Regions from separate parts of the Homo sapiens genome. Here region 1 is linked to region 2. The links are contacts of gene promoters, found by promoter capture Hi-C in human tissues and cell types (Jung and others, 2019). All regions are on one chromosome and are shown on one strand. Each heading gives the region's core, a stretch centred on a gene start or on the middle of the fragment in contact. The rest is flanking DNA. Distances are from core to core; before and after follow the strand shown.

Region 1 (3,704 bases), core at 1,176-3,675, 210 kb after region 2:
GCCAGTCCAGTGTGGGAGGCTAAGAAGCTCTAGTCTCTGAAGATGGGCCTCCTGGCTCAAGGGGACCATCAGGGAAGGGCTTCCTCCCGCCAGCGCCACAAGGGTACCTGAAGCCCTGTCCTCCTGGGTCTCGGCCAGCGCAGAGTGGTCCTCCAGGGCCTGGCAGCTGCCCAGGCCGCCATCCAGCTCCTCCCAGGCTCTGGTTGTCATGGACATGGCTGGAGCAGCAGCAGGTCCCAGGCCAGGCTGGGAGGGGTGGGGAACAAGGTCTTGCATTTACTGAGTCTCTGCCACAGGCCTGGGCCTGACCTGGAGGTTCTGCGGACACCAACTAACAGGCCCCGTCCTCCCACCCCTCCTCACTCGGCAAATTCATACTCATGCCAGGCATGGCCCGGCGCCCACTCCAGGCATCTCTCTGACCCCGCATGCCTGCCCTGGGACCCCTCCCTACCGCCCAGCCTCACTGGGGTCCAGTATCCATCAGTACAGTAGCCCAGGCTGCTCTGGCCCAGAGAGGGCGGGAGCCCCTGCAGGACAACACAGCAATGAGTCCCAGACGCACCCCAAACCGAAACTCTTGGCCCCAGAGTCAGCTCATGTTCTCTGAGACCAGGGACTATTTTTATCTGGTGCCTGAGGCCAGCGGGACAGGCTAACAGGTGCCCCAGCCCCTCCCAGGCCTCTGCTCTCATGGGGTCTCCCTCTGGGCCACCCTGACTTGCCATTCTGGGCACCCACATCCTGCTGCGTGACCCTGTGAGTCTACAGGCTCAGGCCCCAGCAGCAGAACCATCCTGGCTCTGGTCGTGACAGGCCGGGGCAGGGGAGGAGGGTCCCGGTTGTGGTTGGGGGTCTTCTGATCCTGACACAGAGTACCCTGCCTTGTCCCACTAACTCTGTTCCCATAGGACAGATGAGGAAACCGAGGCTAGAGACAGTGCCATTGGCTGGAGGTCGCAAGGAGCTTCAAGTCAGACCCAAAGCTGTACTCTTCAGGGTCCCCATGGCCTCTGGCTGCTGGGATTAGGGTGTCCCTGTATCTAGGCTGAAAAACCACCCAGCCCTGGGGCTCCAAGACCTGGAAGGGGCCTATTGCGTGGCAGTGGGGGAGGGGCCCAAGAAGCATGGGAGGCTGGTGTGTGGCCCCTGGGTGTGCATGGGGGCAGCTCCAGGAATTGGGGACCCTTACAGTCCTCTGCAACACCCCTTCACACCCCGGGAGCCCACACCTCTGCCCGGGATTCCCCCAGCCTCACTTCCTTACCCCCGAGCCTCGCTTACCCGCCAGCCGCTTTGCTGAGCCTTGTGGACAGGACGGAGGATGGGGAGGGTGGCCCCGTGATGGACGGCAACAGGTGGCCAGAGACCGCGGGTGGGCCAATCAGCATGCCCGCTGGAGTGAGGTCACAGCCGGGGAGTCCCCCACCCTTCCCTGCCATTGCAGCAGGGCAGGGCATTGCTCCTACTCAGCACTCGCCACTGCCACCCAGGGAGACGTAGCGCCTGCAGCTGGGACTACAGGCGCGCACCATCACACCCGGTAAGTTTTCAATTTTTTTTGAGACGGAGTCTCGCTCTGTCTCCCAGGCTGGAGTGCGGTGGCGCGATCTCCACTCACTGCAAGCTCCGCCTCCCGGGTTCACGCCATTCCCGTGCCTCAGCCTCCCGAGTAGCTGGGACTACAGGCGCCCGCCACCGCGCCCGGCTAATTTTTTTTGTATTTTTAGTAGAGATGGGGTTTCACCGTGTTAGCCAGGATGGTCTCGGTCTCCTGACCTCGGAATCCGCCCACCTTGGCCTCCCAAATTGCTGGAATTACAGGCGTGAGCCACTGCACCCGGACTAATTTTTGTATTTTTTTTTCAGTAGAGACAGGGTTTCCCTATGTTGGCCAGGCTGCTCTCGAACTCCTGACCGCAAGTAATCCATGTGATCCGCTCGCCTTGGCCACCCAAAGTGCTGGGATCCCAGGCGGGAGCCCCTGCAATGCATTCATTCCTGCTGTTTAAAGCCACTGTATTTGGGGTCATTTGTTTCTGTGGCTCTGGCAGGCTCATACACTCGGAACTGCCTGCTCCCACACCGTCATGCAGAGAAACCTGACGCCTCTGCTCTGGAGAGGACCCGGGGTCTCTCAGCCCCCAAAGGCACATTCTAAGGCCTGCAGGCAGATGTTTGAGCCCTACCTGCAAAGCATGGTGACTCTGGGAGTCCTGAGGGAAGAGGGGAAGTGGATTTTGGTGGTGAGGCCTGTGTGTTAAAAATCCTGAGTGAATGGCCGGGCGCGGTGGCTCACGCCTGTAATCCCAGCACTGTGGGAGGCTGAGGCGGGCGGATCGCCTGAGGTCGGGAGTTTGACACCAGCCTGGCCAACATGGTGAAATCTTGTCTCTATTAAAAATACAAAAATTAGTGAGGCGTGATAGTGGATGCCTGTAATCCCAGCTACTGGGGAGGCTGAGGCAGGAGAATTGCTTGAACCCGGGAGGTGGAGGTTGCAGTGAGCCGAGATCACATCATTGCACTCCAGCCTGGGCGACAGAGTGAGACTCTGTCTCAAATAATAATAATAATTCTGAGTGAATAGGGCCTCCCCAGGAACTACCAAGAGACCCAGAAGGCCAGCCCGCCTTCAGCAAAGCAAGGGCTGGGGTTCCCTGGTCCCCACTCCCTCCGCTTTAGAAACGGCTCTCGGCCGGGCGCGGTGGCTCACGCCTGTAATCCCAGCACTTTGGGAGGCCAAGGCAGGTGGATCACAAGGTCAGGAGATTGAGACCCTCCTGGCTAACACGGTGAAACCCCGTCTCTACTAAAAATACAAAAAATTAGCTGAGTGTCGTGGCGGGCGCCTGTAGTCCCAGCTACTCGGGAGGCTGAGGCAGGAGAATGGCGTGAACCCGGGAGGCAGAGTTTGCAGTGAGCCGAGATGGCACCACTGCACTCCAGCCTGGGCGACAGAGCGAGACTCTGTCTCAAAAAGAAAAAAAAAAAGAAATGGCTCTCATTTTTTTCTGTATGACACAAGGCAGAGACAAACAGGAAACAAAGAGAAGCTGAAAGCAAAAACTGTAAAGCACCTGTCATCTTCCCGCCCCCAAACAGACACTGTTTAATAGTTTGACATGTTCTTTCCGCTGTTTGTAACTTGTGATTTTATTATTAGTTCCATATTTATTTTTATAAAGCTGGCATAATTAGCGAAGGGCTGAACATCTTGTTTGTAACCTAGATTTATTTTTTCTTCCTAAAAGTTTTTTTGTTGTTGTTGAGATGGAGTCTCTCTCTGTCACCCAGGCTGGAGTGCAATGGCGCGATCTCGGCTCACTGCAACCTCTGCCTCCTGGGTTCAAGCGATTCTCCTGCCTCAGCCTCCCGAGGACCTAGGATTACAGGCATGCACCACTGCGCCTGGCTAATTTTCATATTTTTAGCAGAGATGGGGTTTCACCATGTTAATCAGGCTGGTCTCAAACTCCTGACCTCAGGCGATCTGCCCACTCTGGCCTCCTGAAGTGTTGGGATTACAGGCGTGAGCCACAGTGCTTGGCCCCTCCTAAAAGTATATTACAGCTTGGCAGTTCCTCAAAAAGCTAAAATAGAATGACCATAAGATGCAGAAACTCTACTCCTAGGTATCTACGAAAAGGAATCCGAAGCTTGGACTCAGATATTTGCACACCCAAGTTCAGGGCAGCACGATT
Region 2 (3,216 bases), core at 717-3,216:
CGTGCCTCCCTGCTGGGCTGCTGCCTGCTGGAGGCAAGGAGAGTATTTCAGGAGAGGTGGCCCCAATCCAGGGAGCAGCCGTGCATGGTGGGGGCTGTGGGGGGAGATTCCTAGAGCAACCGGTCCCGGCCACCTGGAGGAACACCTCACAGCCAGGACTGCCTGCCAGGCCCTCCTCCACCAAGACGCCCACCTTCCCAGCTCCCAGCCAGGCTGCCCTGGCCATGCACAGAGGCCGGCCCACAATCCTGGGCAGTGTGGGCGGTCCTGGTCCCACTGTTCTAGGTCTGGCTGTGGGACTCGAGTCAGCAGGCCTTGGCAGGAGGTGGCTGGAACCATCTAGAAAGTTCAAGTGTGCTTTAGCTGCCTGGCTGGCCCCATGCACTGACTCTGTATCAGCTCATGCCTGGCCCTAGGAGGGAGAAGACCACTGTCAGGTCCTCCTCTTTCCCGCCCAGCCCCTGACACTCTGATGGTGCCAGGCCTGCTGCCCTAGGGGAAAACTGGGCAGGGGTGGCAGGGGTGGAGTGCTGCCCTGGGGCACTGGCTGGACAGACCTGGGAATTCTTCCCAGTCTCTCTTTGCTCCTCCCACCCTGGAGCACCGCGTTGTGTGTACACACAAGACAGAGACACACACACACACAAACACACACACATACACTCACACTCTCTCTTCCTCTCTCCAGTCCTGCCTTCCCTACCGGGCAACAGGTCCCTGCCCAAGGAAGCCCAGTGAAGCGATTACATAACCCCGGCCTGAGGGGTGGGGCGGGCCGGCTGACATCACTGCGTCCCCTGGGCCAGGTCCTGCGGGGCCCCTGCCCAGCACCTGCCCTCCCCTTCCCCCCCAAGATTTGCTCATCTGAAACCAGCACTCAACAGCAGTCACCACCCGGGCTGCGCAGAAACTTCCCGCTCCGACAGGAAACAGCACTTGGGCCTGGGGTGTCTGCGAAGTGCAGGGCTGAGGGGACATCCCATCCCCTCCCCCACGGCACAGGCCCCCTGGGGGTGGGTGCACCTGACCAGCCCGGCCTGGGGATTCTGAAAGAAAGTCCCCAGAAGCCACATGGAGGTGGGAATGGGACTGTGGCCCGCTGACCCGTCCCCACCAGGGCACAACCAGCTGGAGCTTGCAGGGGACACCCCCCATAAGCCACATGCAGCGACTGGGACAGGACTGCAGCCTGCTGACCCCCCAGAACATACCCGGCGGGGGCTTGCAGGGGACACACAGCCTGGTGCCCTGACCCGGAGGGGGCTCCTGCTCCCAGCCTCACTTGGGGGTCCTGGAGGAAGGACCCGGCGGCCATGGCTGGAGAGAGGACTGTGGCCTGCTGAACCCCCATCCTCGCACACCGACCCCGCTTCAGCGCACGGCCGGCCCGGGCAGCCCCGGGTGTAGGGCGGGGGCCAGGCACGAGCCCCGGGAGCCGATCTTAGGGGCGGGCCCCGCGCCCCCCACGCCGGCCATTCCGGTGGTCCAGCCCGGAGCGCCCCCAAACCGACCCCGGGCCTCACCTTGAACGAACGGTGGAAACCCTGAAGTTCGGCTGGTTTCTTCTGCACCATCTTCTGTCCGGGCCCCGCCAGCGGGGGAGGGGACCGAGGGCCCGGGGGGAGGCCCGAGGGCGGGCGGCCGGGCGGGGGGCGGCCGAGGAGGGGACCCTGCGGGCGGGAGCAGACAAAGGGAGGGCGGTGAGCGGAGCCCGGCCTGCCAGGAGCGCGGACCGGGCGGGGGCGGCGAGGGCTCCGCGGGGCCCGTTTCCCGCTACCGGGTCGGTGTCCTCGGGGCCGCCCTGGGGTTCGCACTCACCGGGGTCGGGCTTGGGCCGGGGCCGCAGTGCCGCCGCCGCCCCACGTCGCGCAGCCCGGACCCCGCTCCGCGGACCGCGCGGGGAACAGCGCCGCCGCCGCCGCCAGCGCGGACCCCTCTACCTGGGCCACCGCCGCTGAGAGGAGCCGGGCGCGTCGCCGCCGCCGCCACCTTTATAGGCCCGGACCTGCTCTGGCCCCGCCCCCGACGCAGGCTCCGCCCGGCCTCACCCCCTGCGCACGACGTGGGCGGAGCCAGAAGAGGGCGCTCTCCGGGAACCCAGTGCGGCTGCGCGCTCCGGCGGTGGGGCGTGTCCGAAACGGCTAGCGCACGCCTGCGCAGTGCGGCGCACGGGGGTCTCGGTGCGGAACCTAGGCAGCGACCCTGCGGCGCGCCCGGAGCTGGCCTGTTTTTGCCGCCTGAGGCTCGCGGGGCCCGTGGGACCTGCGAGGCCCTGGGCCGTGTCCTACCGCCTGGCCCCACACAGGGCAACTCCCTTGGCCTGTCAACCCAGGCCTAGTATACCCCGACTCCCTTGGTTCATGCCCTCGCTCTAGAACCTGCCATGGCTCCCTCTTGCAGTTCTCCAGTGCTGGCTCCAGCAGTCCCCCTCGTGCACCACCAGCACGCTTGGAGTCCCAGCCACTCCCTTCTAGTGCTGGGGGACCAGCCACCGCCACCTACTTTCTTCTTCCCCTGGGCCACCCTGCCTGGGGAGCACTGAGCTCCCCGAGTTTGCTTTGTGGTTGGCAGGAACCAGAGTAGAGGGTGGGGACCGAGGTCTGTGAAGGACCCTTCCTCTGTCCTCGAATAGCATTTCAGGGAGAACTGGGACCTGAGACCCACTGGGAAAGAGCCCAAGGGGTGGATGGTCGCCAGGACAGGAAGTAAAACACAGTCCCATTTTGGCTGGGGCCCCAAACCAGGCTTAGATAGAATCAGCCTGTCCTGAGCTGCCAGTCCCCCATCCCACAGCATCCTGGTTCAAAGTGCTCCCCAGGCCCCGGGCCTGGGGCACACAAGGAGTGGGGGTTCCCCTGCTGGGTGGACTGTGGTCTCCTCTTCTGCAGGGGTTTCCAGAAGCTTCGCACAGCCCATCCCACCATCCCCCAACCAGGCCCTGAGCTCAAGAGGGGCTGGAGCCCCACTGACCTGAAGCTGGAGGGCCCCTGCCTGCAAGGCCACAGCTCTCAGGCCACAGGGGCTGGGAGGCCTGGCCTCAGCCACCCCCGGGGCATTGGGGGGAAGCCTGTGGGGAATTCCCAGCCAGAACCCAGCCCAGCACCTGGCATTGCCCTGACTCTTGGCAATGGGGGGACAGAAAACCAGGTCCCCCAGCCCCCCTTATTGTGCATGTGGGTGCGTGTGTGTGCGTGTGAACACATACACGCACAAACA

Evidence for each region. Contacts are between HindIII fragments. The study calls those that stand out against the background at their distance.
Region 1: a contact is called between a fragment that was not itself captured here and the fragment with the promoter of MKNK2 in region 2, in 1 of the 25 tissues and cell types used here (dorsolateral prefrontal cortex).

Annotation. Positions count from the first base shown.
Region 1 is chr19:2,255,099-2,258,802 of GRCh38, forward strand. It overlaps JSRP1 (junctional sarcoplasmic reticulum protein 1), which reads right to left and starts at 1,319. Exons shown (of 7, transcript NM_144616.4): 1 at 1,285-1,319; 2 at 108-246. The coding sequence starts at 216. RefSeq lists an enhancer at 994-1,073. The HindIII fragment of the contact is 6,525 bases long and covers 1-3,704 here.
Region 2 is chr19:2,049,278-2,052,493 of GRCh38, forward strand. MKNK2 (MAPK interacting serine/threonine kinase 2) reads right to left here and starts at 1,967. Exons shown (of 14, transcript NM_199054.3): 1 at 1,819-1,967; 2 at 1,524-1,670. The coding sequence starts at 1,574. RefSeq lists enhancers at 219-875, 1,052-1,111 and silencers at 682-871, 1,602-2,141. The HindIII fragment of the contact is 30,775 bases long and covers 1-3,216 here.